4 separate regions of the Homo sapiens genome follow, and all the other regions are linked to region 3. Evidence: promoter capture Hi-C in 16 types of primary human blood cells and fetal thymus (Javierre and others, 2016). All regions are on one chromosome and are shown on one strand. The core of a region is centred on a gene start or on the middle of the fragment in contact, and the rest is flanking DNA. Distances in the headings are between cores, read along the strand shown. Region 1 has its middle 20 kb from the start of OR4K5. Region 2 has its middle 25 kb from the start of OR4N5. Region 3 holds the start of OR4K13 (olfactory receptor family 4 subfamily K member 13). Region 4 overlaps OR4K2 (olfactory receptor family 4 subfamily K member 2).

Region 1 (3,277 bases), core at 357-2,856, 140 kb after region 3:
AGTCTTAAGTCTCATCTGAGACTCATCTCCTTTCACCTATGAGCCTCTAAAATCAAAAGAAGTTATTTACTCCCAAGCTCTAATAGTAGTACAAGCATTAGGTAAACATTACTATTCTGAAAGAGAAAAATTGGCTAAAAGAAAAGGATAATAGGTCCCATGCAAGTCTGAAAACCAGCAGGGCAGTCATTAAATATGAAAGCTCCAAAATAATCTCCTTTGACTCCATTTCCCACATCCAGAACATATTGATGCAAAGGGTGGACTCTTAAGGCCTTGAGAAACTCTGCCTATGTAGCCTTGCAGGTTGCAGTCCCCATGGCTGCTCTCACAAGTTGGAGTTAAGTGCCTGTGGTTTTTCCAGGCACAGTGTGCAAGCTGCAGGTGAATTGACCATTCTGGGGTCTAGAGAGTGGTGTCCCCCCTCCCACAGCTCCACTAGGCAGTGCCCCAGTGGGGACTCTGTGTGGGGACTCCAACCCCACATTGCCCCCTCAGCATTGCCCCGGTAAAGGTTCCCTGTGAAGTCTCCTCCCCTGTGGCAAGCTTCTGCCTGGGAATAGAGGCTTCCTCATATACCCCCTGAAACACAGGTGGAAGCTGCCAAACCTTTTTCACCCTTGCCACAGTATTCTTCTGTGTACATGCAGGATTAACACCACATAGAAGGCACCAAGGATTACAGCTTGCACCCTGTGAAGGAGCAGCCCAAGCTGTACCTGGGACCCTTTGAACTGCGGCTGGAACTGAAGCAGCCGGAATGTGGGAGCAGTGTCTTGAGGCTGAGCAGAGCAGTGCCATCTTGGGCCTGGCCCCTGAAATCGTTCTTTCCTCCTAAGCCTCTGTCCCTATGATGGGAGGGGCTGTCTCCAAGATCTCTGAAATAAATACATTTGGAGCCTTTTTCCCATTGTCTTGAGTATTGGCACTTGGCTGCCCTTTAGTCATGCTAGTCTCTCTAGCAAGTGATTGCCCTACAGCCTGCTTGGATTGGATTCTTTCTCTGCCACATGTCCAGGCTAAAAATATTTCAGAGTTTTACACTCTGCTTCCCTTTTAAATACATCTAAATTTATTTCTTTTTTCTCATATCTGACCATAGGCTGTTATAAGCAACCAGGCCACATCTTGAATGTTTTACTACTTAGAAATTTCTTCCATTAGATACCCTAAGTAATCACTCTTAAGTTAAAACTTCCACAGATCCCTAGAACATGAACACAATGCAAACAAGTTCTTTGCTATGGTGTAACATGAGTGACCTTTACTCCAGTTCCCCAAAACTCTCATTTCTATCTGAGACCTCATCAGTGTGGTCTTCACTGTCCATATTTCTATTAGTATCTTGGTCACAACTATTTAACCAGTCTCTAAGAAGTTCCAAACTTTCCTTCATCTTCCTGTCTTCTTCAGAGCCCTCCAAACTTTTTCAAACTTTGCCCATTATCCAGTTCCAAAGCTACTTCTACATTTTCAAGTATCCTTATAGCAACGTCCCACTCCTCATTACCAATTTTGTATTAGGTCATTCTTGAATTGCTATAAGGAAATACCTGAGACTGGGTAATTTATAAAGAAAAGGGGCTTAATTGATCACAGTTCCTTAACTGGTAGGAAGAATGGTGCCAGCATCTGCTTCTGATGAGGGCCTCAGGAGCTTACAATCATGACAGAGGACAAGTGGGGAGAAAGTGCATCACATGGCAAAAACAGGAGCAAGAAAGAGAAAGAGGAGTCTCAGATTCTTAAACAACCAGATCTCACTGAACGAAAACTCACTTATCATCAAGGGGATGCTACTAAGACATTCATGAGGGACTCACCTCCTGATTCAATCACCTCCAACCAAGCCCTACCTCCAACATTGGAAATCACATTTAGACATGAGATTTGGAGGGGACAAACATCCAAACTATATCAAGTGGGATCAAGATCCTGAAATATTTCTTTGAAGAATTGTAACAGAACATGAAACATGGCTTTACCAGTATGATCCCAAAGACACAGCACAATCAAAAGAATGACTACCAAGAGATAGTATTGGTACAATCAAAGTTGTCCAGTCAAAAACAAAGGTTATGGCAACAGAATTTTTGGATTCTCAAGGAATTTTGTTTGTTGACTTTCTGAGGGGGGGGGGCAAAGAATGGTAACATCTGTTTATTATAACAGTGTTTTGAGAAAGCCATGCTTTAGCAGCAAAATGCACAGGAAAGCCTGAACAGAGAGTCTTTCTTCACCATGCCAATCCTCTTACTCATTCTTCTCAGGAACCAAGAGCAATTTTGTGAGGGTTTTGATGGGGAATTTTAAGAACTTCTGGTTTAAAAGTAGAACTACACTGAAATATAATTTTTCATATATTACATTGACAAAAATCTAAAATTTCAATGTACTCTCTTGAGAAGTCTATGAGGTACTCATATATATGAGGTACTCTCATATAAATGAGAATGCAATAAAAAGGAAGTGTATTTGGCAATGTCTACAAAATATGTGTGCAATTGACCCTTGTACTTAGCAATTTTACTTGAAACCATAGGAAAAAAGAAAAGACTAGACATATGTTGATAACTATGAAACCTGGGTATAAATACACAGATGGGAGCATGTGAGCACATTATCATCTTTTGTATATATTTTAAACGTTCAAATTAGGAAGCTTAAAAAATAACTTTTATTCTTAACTACAATTATGCCTTCTGTCATGGCTTACTTGTCCTGTTACAAGCTTTTTGTGTTCAATGCCTGGTTAATTTGAAATCACTTTGTAACAGCACATAACTGCATTTCTTCATTGAATGATCAAGGAACTCTAGTTTACATATACTAAACTAGGAGTTGGAAATTCATTGAGGTACAAGATAGCAGGTCCTGACTTTATAGAATTTATATTCTAAGGCAGAAAGCACATACCTTGACAAATAATTAAAGTAAAATTATACTTGTTTTTTTTCATAGGGGAAGTAGAGGGTGGTATGGAAGGTTTTATTATATTTTAAAAATGTGTGGAAGGTCTCTGCTTATACATAAAGAGAGTCAGATTTAGCCAGGTTAAATGTATGATTATGTTTCTAGACAAGGAAGTTTTAAGCAGAGGGAAAAAAAAAAACAGTATCTGTATGTCAAGAGGTAAAAGTTATTTGGTGAGAGGTGCAAAGTTTAAAAACTAGAACAAATATAGCTTAAATCTAGAGTACATAAGATTTATCTAGCTTAAAAATATTACATATATACCCAAAGGACTATAAATCATGTTGCTATAAAGACACATGCA
Region 2 (3,315 bases), core at 39-2,538, 130 kb before region 3:
CATCTTGTGTCCACTGCTACTGCCATTGCCCATGCCACATTGGCTGCCAAGGAAGTCCAGAGCCCACTCACCCACCCAATACGCTGCTACTGCAACTGGCATTCAAGAAAGCCGTCCAGAGGCTCAAGAATCAGCCTGCCTGCAACTGCCAAGCAGACATGAGGAAACACTGTTCTAGATTACAAGAATAGACCCACTTAGCCCAACACCTTTACCATTGAAATCTGAAGATAGGGCCATCTGGCATTCCCCTCCCCAGCACACCTTCACCACAGCCCCGCAAATCACTGCACCATATTAAGCCAAGGAAAGCACACATACCACTAATGCTATTTATAGCCAAAGAAATTATACAGAATATTCACTACTGTATGTACCAAGAAGCTAAACCAAATGCCCCTAACCAAGCAACATCATAGTCATGTCTTTGAGTAAAAGGACCCTCCCCAGTGAAAGTAAATTTGAAAATAAGAAGTGACTATCACTCCAGATGTGCAAAAATCAATGTAAAGATGCAGGAAACTTTAAAAAGCAAGGTTATATGACACGCTCAAAGGAACACAATAATTCTCCAGCAATAGATTCTAGCCAAAGAGAAATTCTAGAAATACCATATCAAGAATTCAAAATATTGATTTTAAATAAACTCAGTGAGATGTAAGATAAATCTGAAAACCAATACAAAGAAATCAGAAAATGTATTTAGGAAATGAATGAGAAATTTAAAAAGATAAATATTAAAAAAGGATATTTTAGCACTAAAAACTTCATTGAAGGACATACAAAATACACTTGAAACCTTCAACAATAGGCTAGACTAAGCAGAATAAATAATTTTAGAACACAAAGATAGGTCTCTTGAAATAATCTAGTTAGATAAAAAATGAAGAAAAAGAATAAACAAAGCCTTTGAGACATTTGGGACTACATAAAGTAATCTAATGTACAAATTACTGGTATTCTTTAGGAGGAAGAAAGATATGAAGCCTTAGAAAATACAGTTTATAAAATAATAGATGAAAACTTCCTAAGTCTAGCAAGAGATTTAGACATCCAGATCCCAGAGTACCAACAAACCCCAGTGAATACATCACACACACACACACACACACACACACACACACACACAATCTGTCACCATGCGATATAATCATTAGACCGTCTAAACTCAAAATGAAAGAAAGAATTATAAAATCAGCAATAGAAAAGCTTCTTGTCACTTAAAAAGGAAGCCACTTTAGACCAACAACAATTTTTTCAGCAGAAACCTTACAGGTCAGAAGAGAATGAGATGGCATAACTAAAGTGCTGAAAGGAAAAAAAAACATGCTAGCCAAGAATTCTATATACAACAAGATCAAGCTTCATAAATGAAGGAGAAATAAATTATTTCCCAGTCAGGCAAATGGTGAAGGAATCTGTCACTAGACTGGACCTACAGGAAATTGTTGAAGAAGTTCTAAACTTGGAAACAAAAGCACAATACTTTTCATCATGAGAACACAGAGTATAAAACCCTCAGGTCTTATAGAAAAATCACACAATGGAGAAAGAAAGAGAAAAGAATCAAGTTGGCAACACTACAGACTACAGGTCATTATATAGTGAAAAAGGGATCAATTCAATAAGAAGATATAACAGTCCTAAATATATATGTACCCGACATTGGAGAACCCAGATTTATAAAACAAATATTACTAGACCCAAAGGAAGACATAGACAGTAATACACTAATAGTGGGGGACTTCAATGCCCTGCTCATAGCACTAGACAGATAATTGAGACAGAAAATCAACAAGGAAGTATTGGACTTAAATTGGACATTAGACCAAATAAGCTTAACTACTTTTACAGAACATTCTATCCAACAACTGCAAAATATACATCTCATCAGCACATGGAACATTCTCCAAGATAGACCATGTGTTGGGTCACAAAACAAGTCTCAACAAATTTTAAAATATTAAATAATATCAAAGTATGTTCTTAATATTTTATTCAATCACGGTTGAATGAAACTAGAAGTCAATACTAAGAGAAACTTTGGAAACTAAACAAATACATGAAAGATTAGGCAACATGCTCCTGAATTGGGTCAATGAAAAAAATTAAGACAGAGATGTTTTTAAAATTATAAAACCAATAAAAATGGAAACACAATATACCAAAGCCTGTTGGATACAGCAAAAGCAGTGGTAAGAGGGACTTATAGCATTAAATGCTTATATAAAAGTGTAGTAAAATTACAAATTAATAACCTGTCATACCTCAAGGAATTGGAAAAACAAGAACAAAGCAAGTGCAACATTAGTAGAAGGAAAGAAATTACAAAGATCAGAGCAGTGCTAAATAAAATGCAGTCCAAAAAATAGTACAGAGGATCAACAAAACAAAAAAAAGAAAACAGGGGCAGATGTGCTCAAGGCTTTGGGAGCCCACCTGTTGCATCACTGTGACCTGGATGTGAGACATGAAGTCAAAGGAGATATATTTTGGAACTTTAAGGTTTAATGACTGCCCTATTGGATTTTGGACTTGTATGGGGCCTCTAGCCCCTTTGTTTTGGCCAATTTCTCCCATTTCTCCCATTTGGAATGGCTGTATTTATTCAATGCCTGTATCCCCATTGTATCTAGGAAGTAACTTGCTTTTGATTTTACAGGCTCACAGGCAGAAGGGACTTGTCTTGTCTGAAATGAGACTTTGGGCTTAGACTTTTGGGTTAATGCTGGAAAGAGTTAAGACTTTGAGGAACTGTTGAAACAGCATGATTGTGTTTTGAAATGTGAGTACATGAGATTTGGGCGTGGCCAGGGATGCAATGATATGGTTTGAGTCTGTGTCCCCACCCAAATCTCACCTTGAATTGTAATCCCCATGTGTCAAGGGTAGGACCAGGTGGGGGTAATTGAATCATGGGGGGCAGTTTCCCCCATGCTGTTCTCATGATAGTAAGTGAGCCTCATGAGATCTGATGGTTTTATAAGCATCTGGCATTTTCCCTGCTTGCCCTCACTCCATCCTGCCACCCTGTGAAGAAGGTGCTTGTTTCTCCTTTGCCTTCAGCAATGATTGTAAGTTTCCTTAGGCTTCCCCAGCCATGCTGAACTGTGAGTCAATTAAACCTCTTTCTTTTATGAACTACCCAGTCTTGGGTATTTCTTCAGAGCAGCATGAGAACAAACTAATACAGCAGGATAAATAAAAATAAAATCTCTGTGGATATTAATTCACTGCTCTGAGTAAGAAAACAATCAGATAAAAATATCAGTAAGATTATAGGGGTCTTATACAACATGGTTGATTAACATCAAT
Region 3 (3,217 bases), core at 244-2,743:
ATTAAGAAAATGTGGCACATATACACCATGGAATACTATGCAGCCATAAAAAATGATGAGTTCATGTCCTTTGTAGGGACATGGATGAAATTGGAAATCATCATTCTCAGTAAATTATCGCAAGAACAAAAAACCAAACACCGCATATTCTCACTCATAGGTGGGAATTGAACAATGAGAACACATGGACACAGGAAGGGGAATGTCACACTCTGGGGACTGTTGTGGGGTGGGGGAAGGGGGGAGGGATAGCATTGGGAGAGATACCTAATGCTAGATGACGAGTTAGTGGGTACAGCACACCAGCAGGGCACTTGTATACATATGTAACTAACCTGCACATTGTGCACATGTACCCTAAATCTTAAAGTATAATAATTAAAAAAAAAAAAAGAAAAAAAAAGAAAATAATATTGGATTTTTAGGGTGGGTGAGGAGTTGATTATGAATATCCAGGAGAAGTTAGGGATTGATAAGGTAGTTATCACAGGTTTATAAAGAAGAGAGTGATATGATGAAAAATAATTTTTATAGGTAATGTTAAATTCATTCTAAGAATAAACTGTATTTGTGGGGAGATTACATTATGCAACATCTACAAAGTGGAATTCTATACACCTATTAAAAAGTTATGTTTCTATATGTTAATATAAACATATTTAAATGTAATAAGTTAAAAACTCAAGAAAAATAGCTATACATATAATATATAATCTGCAGTCTTAATAAAATGATATAAATATAAATACCTGTAACACTAACACACACACACTGTACTGAAGTGTGTATTATTTTTCTGGAAAGTTATCTAAGAAGCTCTTAAAATGTTCAGTCAGTCTTTCTGTTATCTGTGATGTGCTTTTTTCACATTGGCATAAACTACCTTTTTTTTTAAAAGATAATTAAAAGAAAAAAACATATTTTAACCAGCTTTTTAAGAATGGCTGTTCTATTTCTGATTTTAAAATACTTCAACATTCAATTTGACATTTAAAAATAAATATTGTTAAAATTCCTAATGTTGTGGATTTTTCTGTGGATTAAGTCAGCTGACTTAATCTAGATCCTGAATATGCACTACATAGTTTATTCATTCAACAGATATTCACTTAGTGTTTTTGATATGCACTATTCCAGATGTGGAGGATTTATAAACTTCTTTGTATGTATTTGAAAATTGTTCTCTTCTGTTTAAATGCAGCTTCAAAAATTGGGTTTCAAAAAGAAGCATTAGTAGGAATTCTTAAATATTAGTCATAAAACTGAAGAGAGCTATTACCTTTATAGACATATAAATGAATGGCTCTAATTACATATTTGATGAAATTTAATATTTTGCATCAAAGTTTCTCAGAGTGGGAAATTGGCCAACAGATATGTTTACATAGGGAAAAAAATACATCCCTAGTTGGATAAGTGTTCCTATGGGATTATCTCATAGAAACATATAGCACTATGGTCTCTATTTTTTCTGTTTCTGATGATTGGAAGAGTAAATTGCAGATAACTGATGGGGATACAGGAAAAGGAGATAAAAGGCCATTCCTGGGATTCACGTACGACGCCATCACGAAAGTTTTTTTCCCCTGTCTTGTAAGTAATAACAGCACAAAAAGATGACTACAAATACTTTATTTACTGAAGGTGTTTTGTAAGACCTAGATTAATTTAAAACTATTAGCAACGGAGGCAATTTTTTTAAAAGCTGAACCAATAGAACCAGTTTGTAATAAGCATGAGCCGATGACAAATTTTGTCATAAATTTAGATTATACTGAAAGAACTGTATTTCTTTTACCAACATAAATGTTACATCAAGCTAAGTCATTTTGAAACCTATGACAACCATACACAGGCCAACCAGCTAACCACTACATAGCAATAACCAGGTAAATGAATAAATGAATGCAAGCTGAAAGTGAAATTAGTCAATTACATTTGACTGTGGGTTGTTTGTACACATTGTCTAACCATCTAGAGGAGGTATTTGATGTGAATAATATGAAATGTTGAATGAACGAATTATATAAATATATATAAATATATGAAATGTATGTAATATACATGTTTAATATATATATACTATACATATACTTGACACTTCAAAAGTGTGTAGTGACTACTGCTAATACTGATCTGTGAGGGATTCATGCAAGAATGGAGCATGGAGGAAATAAGGTAAGTTTCTCAGGACCTAATTCATATTTCTTTACCAGAGTCCATTTCAAAACATGGTTCTTGAGAATCCTGGATGTATTTTTGATATCCTTTCCACATTAATAAAACTCAATATTATTCTGTGACTATAAAACTCACCAGAATCATTATCTTATTCATAGAGATCTTTATAGCAGAAAGAGGCATTCGATACCATATAGTCCAAATTCTTTTTTTCACTGAGAAGAAAACCCTCAAAAGGAGAGTTACTTGTCCTGTGTCACCCAGTGAGCAGCTTACCCAGGTGTCCTGTAGAGGTCTTCTGATTCTAATTCATGACCTATAGTTTTGTGGTTTCATGTACTATTAATGTTTTTATTTTTGTCTTCCAGAAACTTATATTCTGAATTCTACTGACTATTTGGGATACTTCTCTGGGCCATTAGTAAAATCACTGACTGACAAAATTCCACAAAAGTAAGGGTCCTTGTAAGTTCAAGTGCCTTGACTGAGTACCAAATGTGGACATCAACATGAACATTTCTTTCCAATATGCATCATTTCCCTACCCCTTATTCTCACTTATTTTGATCATTATGGGATAAAGTTGACGATATGGAAAGAGCAAACCATTCAGTGGTATCGGAATTTATTTTGTTGGGACTTTCCAAATCTCAAAATCTTCAGATTTTATTCTTCTTGGGATTCTCTGTGGTCTTCGTGGGGATTGTGTTAGGAAACCTGCTCATCTTGGTGACTGTGACCTTTGATTCGCTCCTTCACACACCAATGTATTTTCTGCTTAGCAACCTCTCCTGCATTGATATGATCCTGGCTTCTTTTGCTACCCCTAAGATGATTGTAGATTTCCTCCGAGAACGTAAGACCATCTCATGGTGGGGATGTTATTCCCAGATGTTCTTTATGCACCTCCTGGGTGGGAGTGAGATGATGTTGCTTGTAGCCATGGCAATAGACAGGTATGTTGCCATATGCAAACCCCTCCATTACATGACCATCATGAGCCCACGGGTGCTCACTGGGCTACTGTTATCCTCCT
Region 4 (2,872 bases), core at 87-2,586, 160 kb after region 3:
CTGGTAGTTTTTTAAATTTGAAAATACTTTCATAAGGAGTCTGGATATGCACAAATAACAGCATTTTACCAAGAACTTCTATATAGCAGCATAATCCAGTGATCACATTATCCTAAACCCTTATCAATGCAGAAAAATACTTCACATAAGACAGCTCATATAATACAAAACTTCATCTATCTACTAATCTATCCATCTGCCTATCTCTTCACCTTAATAATATGAGTCAAACATCATTCTTATTCTGACAACAATTGTAATGTGAATTCATCCTAAAATCAATAAACCAATTTAATATTTATTCATTGTAAAGAAGCAATAGCATAATGATTAAGCAACAACTTGATACTTCTCTTGATTAATGACAGTTGTGAACAGACAGAAAAACAAGTTTCCAGAAGCTTTAATTAATGTAAGAACCAGTGTAATTTTCTAGTGGAAGTTACTTTTAATTTTTCAAATTAATACTGACACACATATACAGACATGAATATTTAAAACATATAAATGAAAATTTACCTTTTAAATTAAACAAGTCAAGTGTTAGCTCAAGAGACTATCAAGTCCCATAAACAAAGATATCCAGAGGTTATCACCCAGAATGATACAATGACTAACATTTATTGACAACCATATGCTTCATATTATTTGCTTCTTTTATGCCTCAAATAACTCTGTGGTGTAGAGACCACTATTATCTCCTTTAACATATGTAGAAACTGAGGCTAAGAGGTATTAAGTACTTAGCTTAAGTTTACACCACTAGTAGTAGAAGTAGTATTAAACACTGTTTAAAAAAAAAAAAGATACCAGAGTCTAAGACTTTTAAAACTACACATTAGACTTCAGATTCTGCAGAGCCTTTTAATGCAGGGGTGTCCAAAGTTTTGGCTTCTCTGGGCCACATTGGAAGAAGAATTGTGTTGGGCCACACATAAAATACACTGATACTAAAGATAGCTGATGAGCTTTACAAAAAAATCACAAGAAAATCTTATAATGTTTCAAGAAAGCTTATGAATTTGTGTTGGGCTGAATTTAAAGCCATCTCCTGAGCCGCATGCAACCTGCAGGTCATGGGTTGGACAAGCTAGGCTTAAAGCTTATACAGTTTGAGGACACCTGTTTCAGGAAAAAAAAATCGAAATAACTAATAAAAGGTTGTTAGTTTCCATTCTAGGGCCTTCGAGGAAATCCATGCAAAGGAGGAGTTATAAAACCTAAGCTTTACAAGCTTTATGGTAAATCCACCATCATTATACCATATAGTATTCTAAAAGTTTTCTTAAGCATTTTTAGAAACAAACATAATTTGTAGTTTTTATTGCTATTACATATATCCAGTTCCTTCACATATTAAAATTTACACTTTATCTGTTTTTATCTATACCTGATTTTTAACAGTTTTTCCATCTGCATTCAATTGTTGTCAAGCTTCACAGCTTCCTAAACACGTAGAGGAAGATGAAGTTGCTTGTCAACACACTCTTCTTATAAATGCTCCAGAACTCCCTCAGTTGTGTTATTGCAGATAGTGCAGATCACTTAAAATTATACTTGCCTGCTTATCTTGTATTCTCTGCAGAACATTATCTCTGTCTCTGGAAACTCTGGTGGCAGCTGGCACCATCCTTACTATTGCTTAACGAGTCCATGGCCATGTCACTGCAGTTATCCTTGGTGAAAGAGTGTCAGCATCTTGTCTAAGAGATATATCGATAAAACCAACCACCATGAGTCCTAAAGTCCTAACTAAGATTTTTAAGTGTTTATATAACATGCAGAGGTACCATGAATATTGACTCCTCACACTAAGCCACCGAGAAATGTGATAGTTCCATTTATATATGTAAGCCCTCCAAAGGCTTTCTGTAATCCTTTTTATTATCAGCCACAGAATTTTACTATCAATCCAACTACTTAATCTCATTATTGACTTGCCTTATAGAGTTGTCTGCTGATCAGCTACACCTTTGAGGGTATTTTGGCAAATGTTCTTGAGTTTTAGAATTCTCCACAAAAGCACAGAAAATCAATAGCGTCTCTTCCAAAAGATTCCACAGTTTTATATTGCAAAAAGCAGCACAGTTTTGAAAATATTCCCTGGACAAAGAAATATGTCAAGTAAAAGAATTATTTCTAGCATTTTTAAGCACCAGCTAAAACATTCTACATAAACGAAGTCCTTGAATATGAACATATTTGTACATATAACTGCAACCAAGAGAAAGTTCACACTCAAAACCTAAATTGGCCTATTTGTATCCCTATTTAAAATAGAATTATGCTAATCTTGTGCTTACAGAAGCATGTTTTATTTTATGTTAATACTGTAGACGTTATTATCTAATAATTTCAAAACTGCTCAGGCTTTAAACACAGTATCACAGACTTTCAAGCTGTAAGTTTTTTCCTTATTTGCTTAGTACATTAATGAAGAAATAAAACACAAACTGATGAAGAAAAAATAAATTCCTTTTATAACTTGGTTTAATATGAACATCTAAGGATTTTCTGTTTTAATTATCTTTCATAAATGATAATTAATGCATTTCATTTGTTTTCTCCATTTACTCAATCATACCAGAAAATAACAACTTGATATTATCAAATACTGTGGTTGCAACATATCTTTCCCTTTGTGGATACATGTTGGATCATATATAAGACACTATATTTTATCAATATCATTTAGAAAATTCTAAATAAGAGTTAACTCATGAATGTTTGCCATCATTTAAAGATGATTTGCAAAGTAGGGTATACACAATTATTTTTCCTCTTTCAATACTTGCAATTCCAGTTAGTACCAGCAGGTGGTAGTAATACTTTGTATACATTAAAGCTAATATTGAACCTACCAGATTTATTT

What was found. The method cuts DNA at HindIII sites, captures the fragments that hold promoters and counts their contacts. A CHiCAGO score of 5 or more calls a contact.
Region 1: a fragment that was not itself captured here is called in contact with the fragment with the promoter of OR4K13 in region 3 in 10 of 17 cell types (naive CD8 T cells, M2 macrophages, naive CD4 T cells and 7 more); the score reaches 9.6 in naive CD8 T cells.
Region 2: a fragment that was not itself captured here is called in contact with the fragment with the promoter of OR4K13 in region 3 in 9 of 17 cell types (M1 macrophages, M2 macrophages, total CD4 T cells and 6 more); the score reaches 10.6 in M1 macrophages.
Region 4: a fragment that was not itself captured here is called in contact with the fragment with the promoter of OR4K13 in region 3 in 6 of 17 cell types (M2 macrophages, total CD4 T cells, total CD8 T cells and 3 more); the score reaches 7.9 in M2 macrophages.

The regions. Positions count from the first base shown.
Region 1 is chr14:19,898,712-19,901,988 of GRCh38, reverse strand. No RefSeq gene overlaps it. Among named protein-coding and RNA genes, the nearest start is that of OR4K5, 20 kb to the left of the region's middle. The HindIII fragment of the contact is 2,116 bases long and covers 549-2,664 here.
Region 2 is chr14:20,162,149-20,165,463 of GRCh38, reverse strand. No RefSeq gene overlaps it. Among named protein-coding and RNA genes, the nearest start is that of OR4N5, 25 kb to the right of the region's middle. The HindIII fragment of the contact is 153 bases long and covers 1,212-1,364 here.
Region 3 is chr14:20,034,314-20,037,530 of GRCh38, reverse strand. It overlaps OR4K13 (olfactory receptor family 4 subfamily K member 13), which reads left to right and starts at 1,493. Exons shown (of 2, transcript NM_001004714.2): 1 at 1,493-1,593; 2 at 2,550-3,217. The coding sequence starts at 2,773. The HindIII fragment of the contact is 9,053 bases long and covers 1-3,217 here.
Region 4 is chr14:19,878,173-19,881,044 of GRCh38, reverse strand. It overlaps OR4K2 (olfactory receptor family 4 subfamily K member 2), which reads right to left. Exons shown (of 2, transcript NM_001005501.2): 2 at 1-2,872. Among named protein-coding and RNA genes, the nearest start is that of OR4K2, 4.5 kb to the right of the region's middle. The HindIII fragment of the contact is 200 bases long and covers 1,237-1,436 here.